Regions from separate parts of the Homo sapiens genome. Here all the other regions are linked to region 1. The links are contacts of gene promoters, found by promoter capture Hi-C in human tissues and cell types (Jung and others, 2019). All regions are on one chromosome and are shown on one strand. The core of a region is centred on a gene start or on the middle of the fragment in contact, and the rest is flanking DNA. Distances in the headings are between cores, read along the strand shown. Region 1 holds the start of FAM83D (family with sequence similarity 83 member D). Region 2 overlaps DHX35 (DEAH-box helicase 35). Region 3 overlaps PPP1R16B (protein phosphatase 1 regulatory subunit 16B). Region 4 overlaps DHX35 (DEAH-box helicase 35).

Region 1 (2,996 bases), core at 81-2,580:
CATGCTTGTAGGCTGATAGAAATGAATCGGTAAAGAGGGAAGCTGATGTTCCAGGAGAAAGAAGAAGATTGCTGGAGCGATGCTGGTGAGTAGTAGAGGGGCTGGAAATGCCCAGGCAGAGGGGTTGGGGTTGGATGGGCACAGGCACAGTTCATCAATGCCCAGTATACGGGCAGAGATGCAGACAGGAAGGTAGACTAGATGGCCGCACGTGGACGTTCCCTTCTTACTGTTTCTGTGTTCTTGCTGACATGGAAGACAAGCTGTCAGAGAGGAAAAGGTAGAGAGAATGAGGGAAATGCGGCCTACCAGGCAGTTTTTTTGTTTGTTTGCTTTTGTTTTGTTTTGTTTTGTTTTTAGATGGAGTTTCGATCTTGTCGCCCAGGCTGGAGTGCAGTGGTGCTATCTCGACTCACTGCAACATCCGCCTCCCGCGTTCAAGTGATTCTCCTGCCTCAGCCTCCCGAGTATCTGGGATTACAGGCGTACACCAAGACACCTGGCTAATTTTTGTATTTTTAGTAGAGACGGGGTTTCACCGTGTTGGTCAGGCTAGTCTCAAACGCCTGACCTTAGGTGATCCGCCCTCCTCGGCCTCCTAAAGTGCTGGGATTACAGGCGTGAGCCACCGCGCCCGGCCTCCTAGCAGGCAGTCTTACGGATTATGAATTTAAAACATGACCAGTCAGTAAGCATGGTTACGCTCTTTTTGTTTTTTCTTCAGCCCTGTAGGGCTGCCGGGGTGCAGGTGGAAAGTAGGGTATAACCACGGTTGGTTGGGGTTTTACAAGGCAAAAATCGATGAAATGAGAGAAGACTACCCGAGGGTGTAATCAAAGGAGCAGTCCTAATACGATGAGCCGGTATTCTTTGAATGAATGAATACATGGTTAAAGGCAGGTGATAAAGGCGATATGGTTGGCCATGCCAAAGCACTGAGAGCCTAGGAGCAGCGTGGCCAGAGTCTCCGGGAGTCGGCACCTGCCTCTCCTCGTTGTCTAGGCCTGACTGTCCCTGGCCTTGCACGGCCGCGCAGCGGGGCGACCGGCAGGGGGCGCGCTGGGATGGCCAGGAGCTCGGCTCTCCCCGCTCTGTCCCTGCTCTGCGGCCCGCCTCGCCCCTGCAAGTTTAAATTCCTCTTAGCAAGCCCAGCATCGCAGCCAATAACGCATCAGGGGGCGGAGCCGTAGAGGCTTGCGCCCCGCCTCGCTCCGCTATTGGAAGGAAAGCAGCCAATGGGAGAGCCGAGGCGGGGAGGTGCGGCCAATGGCGCGGGCCTGTTTGATTCAAAGGTTGCCTATAAAGCGGGACTGCACGCCGGTTTTTGTCCGAGGGCTGTCGAGTCCGAGCGCCGCCATGGCTCTGCTGTCCGAGGGCCTGGACGAGGTGCCCGCCGCCTGCCTGTCGCCGTGCGGGCCGCCCAACCCGACCGAGCTGTTCAGCGAGTCACGGCGCCTGGCTCTGGAGGAGCTGGTGGCGGGCGGCCCCGAAGCCTTCGCGGCCTTCCTGCGACGCGAGCGCCTGGCTCGTTTCCTGAACCCCGATGAGGTGCACGCCATTCTGCGCGCGGCGGAGAGGCCGGGAGAGGAGGGCGCGGCGGCGGCGGCGGCGGCCGAGGACTCGTTCGGCTCCTCGCACGACTGCTCTTCGGGCACCTACTTCCCCGAGCAGTCGGACCTGGAGCCACCGCTGTTGGAGCTTGGCTGGCCCGCCTTCTACCAGGGCGCCTACCGCGGCGCCACGCGTGTCGAGACGCACTTCCAGCCCCGCGGCGCTGGCGAAGGTGGCCCCTACGGCTGCAAGGACGCTCTGCGCCAGCAGCTCCGCTCGGCGCGAGAGGTGAGCGGCCCTCCAGGGCCCTGGGTCGCACGGGAGACCCCCTTCAAGAATGGGAAATTGAGGCCTGCTGGGAGTACGGGCCGGGGCCACTACCTCCTCTGCGCCCTACCGGAAGCGCGCGCGGGCTAGGTGGTCCCAGGGTCTCCGACTCACACCCCACTCTGCGTGTCTCCCCCGGATCCCCCGGGCCGCTCCTCGTGGCAGGGGATAGTGGGAAAGCCTCGGTTCCCAAGGATGCGAATTGTGCCCGGGTTCCATCTCCTAACGTTCATATCCCTGAAGGAGGGACCAGAAGTACTCTGAGTTCCAAATTTCAGTTAAAATCAAACTTGGAAAATTGCCTATTTCCCTGTCTGTCAGCCAACGCTAGATCCCACTTTCAGGAGCTTCTTAGGAGACTCATTACCAAAGAACTTACGCAGGGAAAGTTCCAGAAAGATGGTCTCCAGAGACAACTACGGGGCATTAGGAAGCAATTATTATTGCTAATTACTTTCATGCATCTTTTGCTGTAAAAAGCAGATAAACACGAGAGTGGCAAAGTGAGAGCCCTGCCGCTTTTTCTTTCTTGTCTTTTTTTTTTTTTTTTTTTTTTGAGACAGATTCTCTTTTGCCCAGGCTGGAGTGAAGTGGTGGGATCTCAGTTCACTGCAACCTCCGTCCCCCGGGTTCAAGTGACTCTCCTGCCTCAGCCTCCCAAGTAGCTGGGATTACCGGTGCCCGCCACCACGCCCGGCTAATTTTTGTATTTTTAGTAGAGACGGGGTTTCTCCATGTTGGCCAAGCTGGTCTCGAACTCCTGACCTCAGGTGATCCACCCGCCTCGGCCTCCCAAAGTGCTAGGATTACAGGCGTGAGCCACCGCACCCGGCCCCCTGCCGCTTTTTCTACTGCCAGAGACTGGAGGGGAAACTGGGGCAAGGGGTTTGTTTTCCATAGGCTGGGTCTGTGCCAGATTGCAGTGGTCTCCTAAAATGCAGATACATTTGCATTAGATCGGCTTCTGTATTCATAGTGGGTTTTGGTCCTACTGTCTGACTCTTAGTATGGCATGGTCATGGGTGCAATGGAGGTCTTGTCTGCTTGCCAGCCTCGATAAAGCTGCAGCAGGGTGCTGGGGATCAAGGAGGAAGAAGGCAGCCTGCAGGTGGGTGTGG
Region 2 (2,729 bases), core at 90-2,589, 41 kb after region 1:
TGCCCATTTTCGTTTGCTCATTTGATAAATATTTCATGATTGTTGACCATGTGCATGACGAAAACTTTACAATAGGTTTTAAGCTTTTTTTGACTTGACCCACAGTAAGATATAGCACACATACACAACTGAAGAAAAAGTTGTTCATAAACAGTATTGCTTTCTGGAATGTGCTCTGATGCTTTCTATTCTATTTCATTATTTAAAAAGTGCTGGTATGACATACTACATTGATTTCATAACCCACTAATGGGTCACCAGTAAAATTTTTAAAAACCAAGTTAAAGGGAATGAGGAATTAGGGATATCAGCCTTGTTAAGATAGGGAAATGAAGATGTTCATAGTTTGCAAAAGTTATAAAGTTGTTACTCCCTTAAGCATAGAGCGTACGCTCAAGGAAAAATCAATCATAGGCAGCCACAGAGGGGTGTTTATAGAGGGAAAGCAGCCCTGATGTTCTGGTTTGGTTGAAGGAAGTCTTTTATGAGGAGAAGGTATACTGTTTATCAACTGACATAGCTGTTCTTATAAAAGAGCTCAGCTGGGCGTGGTGGCTCATGCCTATAATCCTAGCACTTCGGGAGGTCGAGGTGGGTGGATCACCAGAGGTCAGAAGTTCGACACCAGCCTGGCTAACATGGTGTGACCCTGTCTCTACTAAAAATACAAAATGAGCTGGGTGCGGTGGTGCGTGCCTGTAATCCCAGCTACTCGGGATGCCCAGGCAGGAGAGTCGCTTGAACCTGGAAGGCGGAGGTTGCAGTGAGCTGGCATCTCGCCACTGCACTCCAGCCTGAGCAACAGAGACTCCATCTCCAAAAACAAAAGCTGATAATAGAAGAGATAGATTGGGGCTGTAGGTTAGAGACAAGGGAGGAATACGGTAGTACAAAAGACATGTTAAAATATTCCAGAGAGGATATGAAGGTTTAAAACATGATTTGAAAAGGCAGGAATTCAGGACAAAAACACAGCAGAAAAGGATAAGGTATTCTTTGTCATTGTTTTCTTGAGTAACAATTACAAGGAATTATTAAGATGTAGTGACAAGAAGGGAAGGAAAGAAAGCCTGTCTCTTTGAGGACAGGCATTGTTCCAGGTCCTGTTCCATCTTTTGTCTTGTTGAAAGGAAGGTCAACATTTTGGCAAAAGCAACATGACAGTGCCCCACTTACCTGATTTTTGGCCATCTTGAACCTCTGAAACACAACTCTGTTCCTGGAAGTAAATGGAAAAGGGTCAGAGATCTAAAGCAGTGATTCTAAACTTAGCTCTAGGGGGTCTACGGACCCCCCCGAATTTTATATTCTGGTAAATTCTGGTGTGTTTTTTAGGAGAGGGAGTTCATAGCCTTTATCAGATTGTTGAAGCAATCTGAGAACCCTAAAAAGTGTAAAAGTAAGTCACTGAGCTGAATATTCTTGTTACAAAGCTCCTGTGCTTTCACTTAGCATCACAGATTCTGAGTTCAGAAGACCTAGGAGATGATGGTTATTGGTTATTATCACTGTAGTGCCCCAGCAGGAGGCTGTATAGCATGTGTTTGATCTAGGGAGGATTTTTATTCATTTACAAGGCAGCAAACTCCAGTGCTGAAAAGTGTGACCTTTTGGAAATATCTTCCTTACATTGAGTTGAATTCTGAACCCTGTGTCATTTACTTATTACTCCTAGTTCTGTCCTAGAGTTACAGCAGCAAATCAGCATGAAAAGTTATGGAAGCTGCTCACAAAATTTAAAGTTATGTTTCTCCTGAGTTGTTTTTCTGTTTGAGCTAAAACTGTATGGAACCTTCAACAGGTTTTCATGATGGGATATGGCTTCCCTATTCTTCACCATCATGATCACCAGTTTGTCATTGTTATTAGCAAGAAGCCGGGGTGAAGATCTCTTGTTTAATCTGCCCAGCATGGCGGTTACTGAGAATAGCATTTCCCATCTATCCACTCCCGATTCCATGGTTCCAATGGGGACTGTCATTTACCTCATCCCATTCCACTGGCCATGGTTGATTGTATTGGGGTGGGGATTGGACCTAAGCTGGGAGAAGTCAGTCCCTGTCTGTCCAGTATAAAAGAGCCTCCCCCACCCCCCATTACAACACATACCTGGGACTCCCAGTCCCCCTTACGTTGTCTTTATTTCTCTCCATAGCACTTATGACCACTTCATGCACCAAGTTACTTTCCACTGAGAGGAAGAATTAAAAAAGCAAGTGAGCTCCGTGAGGGTAGGGCTGGCATCTGTATTGTTCACTGCAGTGTTTCTAGTGCTTAGAGTGGTACGTGACATGGAGTGGGCCCTTGGTCCATCCTTGCTGGTCCTTGCTGGACCACGATGAATGATTGGTAGAGGAGTTGTAAGCGTGAACCCTGGCACTGCCGGCAGCCGTCTTTCCAGCTCCTGTACAGTAGCCAACCTAAGGGGCTGGAAGGAACCTGCAAGACGTGCCAAGATGAGAGAAGGAGAAAGCCATGGCTGCTTTGAGTGCCCAGTTTCTGTCATCTCTGAGCCTTATTGCCATCCTACAGTAACAAGATTCATCCTTTTACCTCAGCTAATTCCCACTGGGTTTCTTTCACTTCTGTTAAGAATTCAGTAATAACATGGACATGGAGGCCAGAAGTAAAGACACTGTGCTCTGTAATACACAGTTCTGAGTGGCCAATTTGGAGCCCAGTGGGACTGCCATCTCGTTTCTTTTTTCTTTTTTTTTGGAGACAGAGTC
Region 3 (2,954 bases), core at 120-2,619, 39 kb before region 1:
GTTGGCCAGGCTGGTCTTGAACTCCTGACCCCAAGTGATCCACATGCCTTGGCATCCCAAAGTGCTGGAATTACAGGCATGAGCCACCGTGCCTGGCCAGAAAACATTATTAATATAATAATAATTTTCTTACTGAACTCTAGAGGCAGGGAGCCCGGTTGTGCACTGGGCGCCGAGGACTTTGCTCCTGTGAGTAGGTGCAGAGCCAGGCCTTGGGCTCCTAGGTACATTGGAAGTAGCACTGCTGAGGCAGCCTTGGCTCATGAGTACTAAGGGCTTCCTAGAGATGGGAATCATTTGTCCCACCTCTTGGGCTGAAAATAACTGCCCAACATCAGGGTAATTACATGACTTGGATTCCTCCACCGCATGGAGAACACCCCAATAATTACTGTGCACAAACACTGCTTTTGGCAGCTGATGCTTATTTTCTGCCTCCAGGAGTATCTCCTGGACAGGAAGCTTATTCTGCTACCCACCCCATGGGATTTGAACCCCTAGCTAATGTGAGCAGAACCATCCAGAAACCCATCCTAGTCAGGGATATAGTGGCCACTGCTCCTCTCCCAAAAGCCATCTGTAATGCTCAGGGCACCCCCACTCACCCGTGGGCAGGTTGGGCCTTGGTGATCAGTGGCTTTGCCATAATCTCCTACATGGTCCTGAGGCTAACACCAGGCACTGGGTCTGTAGGAGATGCCTGCGAGCAGAGGACTGCCTGCTACAGACATGAGTCTTCTGGAGTCAGCCCTTGAGGGTGATCTGCTTTGCTCAGTGATGGAGAGGCTTTGTCCTTGGACTGAACTAGAGGGCTGCCAATTGGGTCAAGGTCCTAGAGGAGTTCTTGAGGACTCACTGTGTACCAGGCTTTAGGGATAGAGCCATAAGTACCAGGTCATGGTTCTGCCCTTGTGGGGCTTAGTGTCCAATGGGCAGATACACTCAAAGCCCATAATTAGTTATATAATTGTAGTTGTGACAAGGCTGTAAATGAGATGTATAGGAGCTATGGGTATATATAACAGGAGCCTGGGGAGTTTAAGCTGAGACCTAAAGGACGAGGAGTGGGGCAAAGGTGTGTGTGTGTGTGTGTGTTAGTGTTAGAGGCAGATGCATGGATGATGGTGGTTGGATGGATGAATGGATGCTGGTGGATGGATGGATGAATGATTGAGTCTCCCAGGCAATGGGAACAGACTATGCAAAATCTCAGAGGCCACAAGAAGTGATGTGACTCTGTAACTGACAAAAGACTATTGTGGAAAGTGTTTGGAGTTTAAGAAATGAGAGTGGTGAGGTTAGCAGGTAGGATGATTGTGCACAGCTGAGCAAGTTGTGTACTGGACAGCTCCAGAAGATGCCAGTCTTATAAACCATGATGTGGATGGTGCCACCTAGAATTGTGCAAGCTAGAGACCTGCAGACAGGGCTCACATCACGCAAGAACTTGTATGCCATAGGAAGAGTTGTGGACTTTATTCCCAGAGCAATGGGGAGCCATGGAAGGATTTTAACAATTTGTGACAGAGCTAATTTTCATTTATAATGCCCCAAAGCAGCACCGTCCAATAGAACTTTCCAAGAAGATGAAAATGGTCTATTTCTACACTTTCCAATATGGTAGCCACCAACCACTTGAAACTGAGCACAGCATGCCTGAGAAACTAAATTTTGAATGTTAATTCGTTTAAGCAGCCGTAATAGCCAGATGTAGCTAGTGGCACCATGTTGGTCAGGACAGCGCCAAAGGATCTGACCGTACTGGACAAAGTCCTGTCATGCTTAACCCATACTGGCTATGCATACTGGGCAGGTCTACTGGAGATGCCACCTCTTACTGGGTGGTGACCTCAACCTCCCCTTCACGCAGGGCCTCGGTTCACACTGAGGCCTAGGGTGCAACTGGGACTGTGGTTTGGGAGCTGGGCCTCATGAGGATGGAGCTGAGGGGCTGTACCCCCACCCCATCCACTGCTCCTGAGCCCTTGAGGACTCCTCCCTTGCCTACCAGCTTCTTTTTCCCCTGGCACCCCCTGGAGTTGCTGACTGGGTTTTTTTGTCCTGCAGAAGGGATAGTCTTCTCTTCACCCTGCCCAGCTCACTTCTAATTTGTTTCCCCACAGCAGAAATCAACGAGGAAACCACCTCAGCCCTGCCCTATGGCATGAACCGTAGCGTGGAGATAGTGTCCACGGTGGGGATTAGGGGATGTGGACTTTGGCTTCTGTTTCACAGGGAGCTAGACTTGGCTGGGGGTGGGAGGAGGCTCAGAGGGCTCAGGGCCAGCCTATGTATCCTGTCTGCAGTGCCTGGGCCTGCACGCCTGGCTTCATCAGCACGATGGCACGAGGGCCACCCACACAAGCCAGCTTGTGTATTCAAGTTCGTCCACTTGCCCCACAAACAGCCACCCTCTGTTCACCACTCTGGCCTAGAGGTCCGCTTGCCCAGTAACTGCACAGTCTACCTTTGGGAAGCTGGATCCAGGGAAGATCCTATTGAGGCCCTGCAAGCAGGCTCGGAGTCATTTGGACAGGGACAGTAGAGGTGTGGCCTGGAAGGGGAGCCAGGGGCTTGGGTGGACTCGTCCCACTGGCCCCCTGGACTCCTCATCCACGGGGAGAGGCAAAGCTGGAGGGCCTGAGATCACCCTGCCAAAGCCAGAGCTGGGGTCCCAGTTGCCAAGCCTGGGAAGGGGCCTGCAGGGCTGGTGGGTGAGCTCCTCTCTTCTCTCCCTTTGCACGTGGGTTCAGGGGAGAATTGGGGCTTGAATGGTGGTGGGCAGAGGAGGAGGGAGGAGGGTCACAGTGATAAGGGGAGGGGGCTTATCCTAAGCAAGAGGGATTCCAGGCTGTCAATGCTGTTCACTCTGGCCTCCCTGCCCACCCAGAATCCCTGAACACACACACACACACACACACACACACACACACACACACACACACACACACCCC
Region 4 (3,067 bases), core at 65-2,564, 60 kb after region 1:
GTTAAGGTTGCGGTGAGTTATGATCGTGTCATTGTACTCCAACCTTTACCCTATCTCCAAAAAAAAAAAAAAAAAAAAAGGCTTAAAGAAAAGGAAGTAGGGCCTTTAGTTTGTGGCCTTTACCTGGACAAACAATTAATTCTATTTCCCCAAGTTATTTTTGTTCTGTACTGAGTTTTAATTATTGTGTCGTTGTTTTGCCCAAAGTTCATTTTCTAATGGTGTTCAATTAAGAAGTTATACAGTTTTAGAAGTTATGTGTGTGTGTGTGTTGTGTTTTTGTATGAAAATGGGGCTAACAGTTTGGAAACCAAGTTGCAAATGCTGCTGGAGTTAATCTTTTTTGTCACTAAAAGATGACTCAGTTACCTAAAATTAGAACAATTTTTCCTGTTTGTGGTTTGGAATCCCAGCTCTTAATCAGTTTGCATCTTAGTTCCAAATTTGTAGCCATGGATAACTTCCATGAAACCACAGCTTTCTCTTGAAAGAGCAAAGAGCATGTAATATATTAATAGAGCTGTCAAGTTTGAAATGCTACATCTCAGAAAGTACTTTATGTGCAGACTAAAATCTGCAAACAATCTCAGAGCCTAAAAACAGATTGCATAAGCTGTTGCTTGATCTCTGTGAGAGGCAATTAGTAGTGAGTATGCTTGTTGAACTCATGTGGTCTGGGTTTGACTTCAAGACCAGGTAGGTCCTCCCTGACCTGTGATTCAGAATAAGCTCTAACACCTGTCTTATTTCAGTTTCCTCATTTGTAAATACAACAGTGTCTCGTCTACCTCATGGGCTGTGTGTCTATTTAATGAGATACAAATTTGTGAAAGCTTAGAGCACAGCACTTGCCAGTAGTAGGTGCTCAGTGATTTTTTTTTTTTTTTTGGTCTTTTACCTCCCTTTCCTTTTGGTCTGTCAAAAAGATAGTATTTGTCCAGTCTAGTTGATGAGGTTATTGGGAGCAGAACTAAAGTGATAGAGATAAAAATCTATTAAAAAGCCAAGAGAATATAACCTTGTGTGATTATAAATAATAAAAATTTAAAAATAGAGTTTGAAAATAAAAATACATACTTTTTATAGCAAATGTATTCAAATAGTGAAGGAGTAAGAATAAACAGGTTTGGCTTTTACCTTATAGACCCATAAAATGATTATATTTTTACAGAGATTTGTTAATTTATGCTCATTTTTTTAAATTTAAAATTTTTGTGGGTACATCGTAGGTGTATATATATTTATGTATGCTCATTCTTATAAGCCTATTTTCTCCATAAGTTCCTAGTATCTCTATGCACACATTCTCTACCTGTACCATATTCTGAGATTTATAATATAACGACATGTAGGGTTGAAATTGGAACAGTAACAATAACAAATCTGTCCTGGTGAAATGCTGGTCATTGGGAAATACAACCACCAGAGGCAGAGCAATGTAGGATAACTTTCTGGTTTCATAAGACGTTTTGAAAGCCTACATGATATAGACCAGCTGCCAGATGATTGATTTGGTTTTGGCCTCCCCATTCTATAATTTCAAGTCACCAGGCAGAGCTGCTTCTGATCCTCATCTGCTCTTCAGTGTCTTAAACACTGATGGGCAGGAAACGCCTGGGTGTGCCTAGCTCAGAAGCTGAGGGCAGGGAGCCTCTGCCCTCCTGAGCCTGGGGCTGCTGGGGTGGAAAGGCTGGAGCAGTAAGCTCTGTCTCAGGACACCACATGTGCCAGCCATGTTCTAAAGTCAGGACTTGGGAACTGCGTGGGTGCTGGGGAGGTTGTCTCACCTGTGAAAGAGGGAGACTGAACTCCTTCCTTCTGTGGGGATTGGTGTGCTGGGCCCTGGGAAATCTCTATTAATATTGCTTCCCTTTGGTTCTTTTCATTTAGGTAGTTTATGTGGTGGTGAATACTAAACTTTCTTTTCTTTCTTTTTTTGTTTTTTGACACAGTCTCTTTGTCACCGAGGCTGGAGTGTAGTGGTGTGACCTCGGCTCATTGCAACCTCCACCTCCCCGGGTTCAAGTGATTCTCCTGCCTCAGCCTCCTGCGAGTAGCTGGGATTACAGGCGCATGCCACCATGCCCAACTAACTTTTTGTATTTTTAGTAGAGATGGGGTTTCACCATGTCGGCCAGGCTGGTCTTGAACTCCTGACCTCAGGTGATTTGCCTCCCAAAGTGCTGGGATTGTAGGTGTGAACCACCGCGTCCGGTCCTATTTTCTTTTAAATTAAACTAAATGATATTCATTATTGCTCTTCCACTTTTATGCTTGTTCATTCTTTTAAATATTTTCTATTAATAAGTTAACTTTTGAATAGCCTTCTTGGGGGAATGCAGAGATCTTGCTGTTGGATTCATTTTTCTCTTTCCTGCATTCATTTTTTATTTGTTATGTTTTGATGGATGAAATTTTGTCTATAGTTTATGGTCTTCATAATGTATTACATATTTTGTCTTTCACTTTATTATGCTACCTTGGATTTTTTATTGATCTTCTCATCCACTCATCTGCCCCCTTTGTTTTAAACCTGAGTTTGTCTGTATTTCCCCTCTCAGTGGCTTTGGCAGCTGGGACACAGTTGTGAACTGTTTCAGGTATCTCATTCTTGAAACTTAGCTTTTTGCCTTCGATGAGAAAATGAAACTGGCCCAGCTTTGAATATGGTAATTCCTGTTCTGCCTTCATGGTCCCGGGGGATGGGTTTTCTTTTCGAGCGTGGAGATGAAAAGTTGTCCCTGGTTAGTGTGCCCTTTGTTTAGGAACAGGGTGAATCTTGTCATTTCTTTTACTTTCCTTTTTGCTTTGGCCACCAAATTTAGAGCTGAATTTGTGGCTCAACTTGAATAATTTTGGCATATCTATGTTTAACATTTTCTCATTGGCTTTGATCTTTTGAAATTTTTTCTGTAATTTTTTGGATCTTGATCCGTAACATTTTTATGTGATTTTGTTTTTCATTGTGTATGTTCTTATAAGTTGCCCCAAGACCATTATAGAATGAAGTGAGATACATAAGTTAATAATTGGCTGGGTGTGGTGGCTCACGCCTGTAATCCCTGTA

What was found. Contacts are between HindIII fragments. The study calls those that stand out against the background at their distance.
Region 2: a contact is called between a fragment that was not itself captured here and the fragment with the promoter of FAM83D in region 1, in 6 of the 25 tissues and cell types used here (adrenal gland, hippocampus, liver and 3 more).
Region 3: a fragment that was not itself captured here is called in contact with the fragment with the promoter of FAM83D in region 1 in 1 of the 25 tissues and cell types used here (stomach).
Region 4: a fragment that was not itself captured here is called in contact with the fragment with the promoter of FAM83D in region 1 in 2 of the 25 tissues and cell types used here (bladder and spleen).

What each region holds. Positions count from the first base shown.
Region 1 is chr20:38,925,087-38,928,082 of GRCh38, forward strand. FAM83D (family with sequence similarity 83 member D) reads left to right here and starts at 1,331. Exons shown (of 4, transcript NM_030919.3): 1 at 1,331-1,839. The coding sequence starts at 1,357. RefSeq lists a silencer at 949-1,308 and enhancers at 1,419-1,518, 2,904-2,993. The HindIII fragment of the contact is 31,187 bases long and covers 1-2,996 here.
Region 2 is chr20:38,965,848-38,968,576 of GRCh38, forward strand. The region is part of intron 1 of DHX35 (DEAH-box helicase 35); the gene reads left to right. Among named protein-coding and RNA genes, the nearest start is that of DHX35, 4.9 kb to the left of the region's middle. The HindIII fragment of the contact is 5,080 bases long and covers 1-2,729 here.
Region 3 is chr20:38,885,978-38,888,931 of GRCh38, forward strand. All of the region lies in intron 2 of PPP1R16B (protein phosphatase 1 regulatory subunit 16B), which reads left to right. Among named protein-coding and RNA genes, the nearest start is that of FAM83D, 39 kb to the right of the region's middle. RefSeq lists an enhancer at 621-1,121. The HindIII fragment of the contact is 4,902 bases long and covers 1-2,954 here.
Region 4 is chr20:38,985,317-38,988,383 of GRCh38, forward strand. All of the region lies in intron 4 of DHX35 (DEAH-box helicase 35), which reads left to right. Among named protein-coding and RNA genes, the nearest start is that of DHX35, 25 kb to the left of the region's middle. RefSeq lists an enhancer at 2,696-2,815. The HindIII fragment of the contact is 4,319 bases long and covers 1-3,067 here.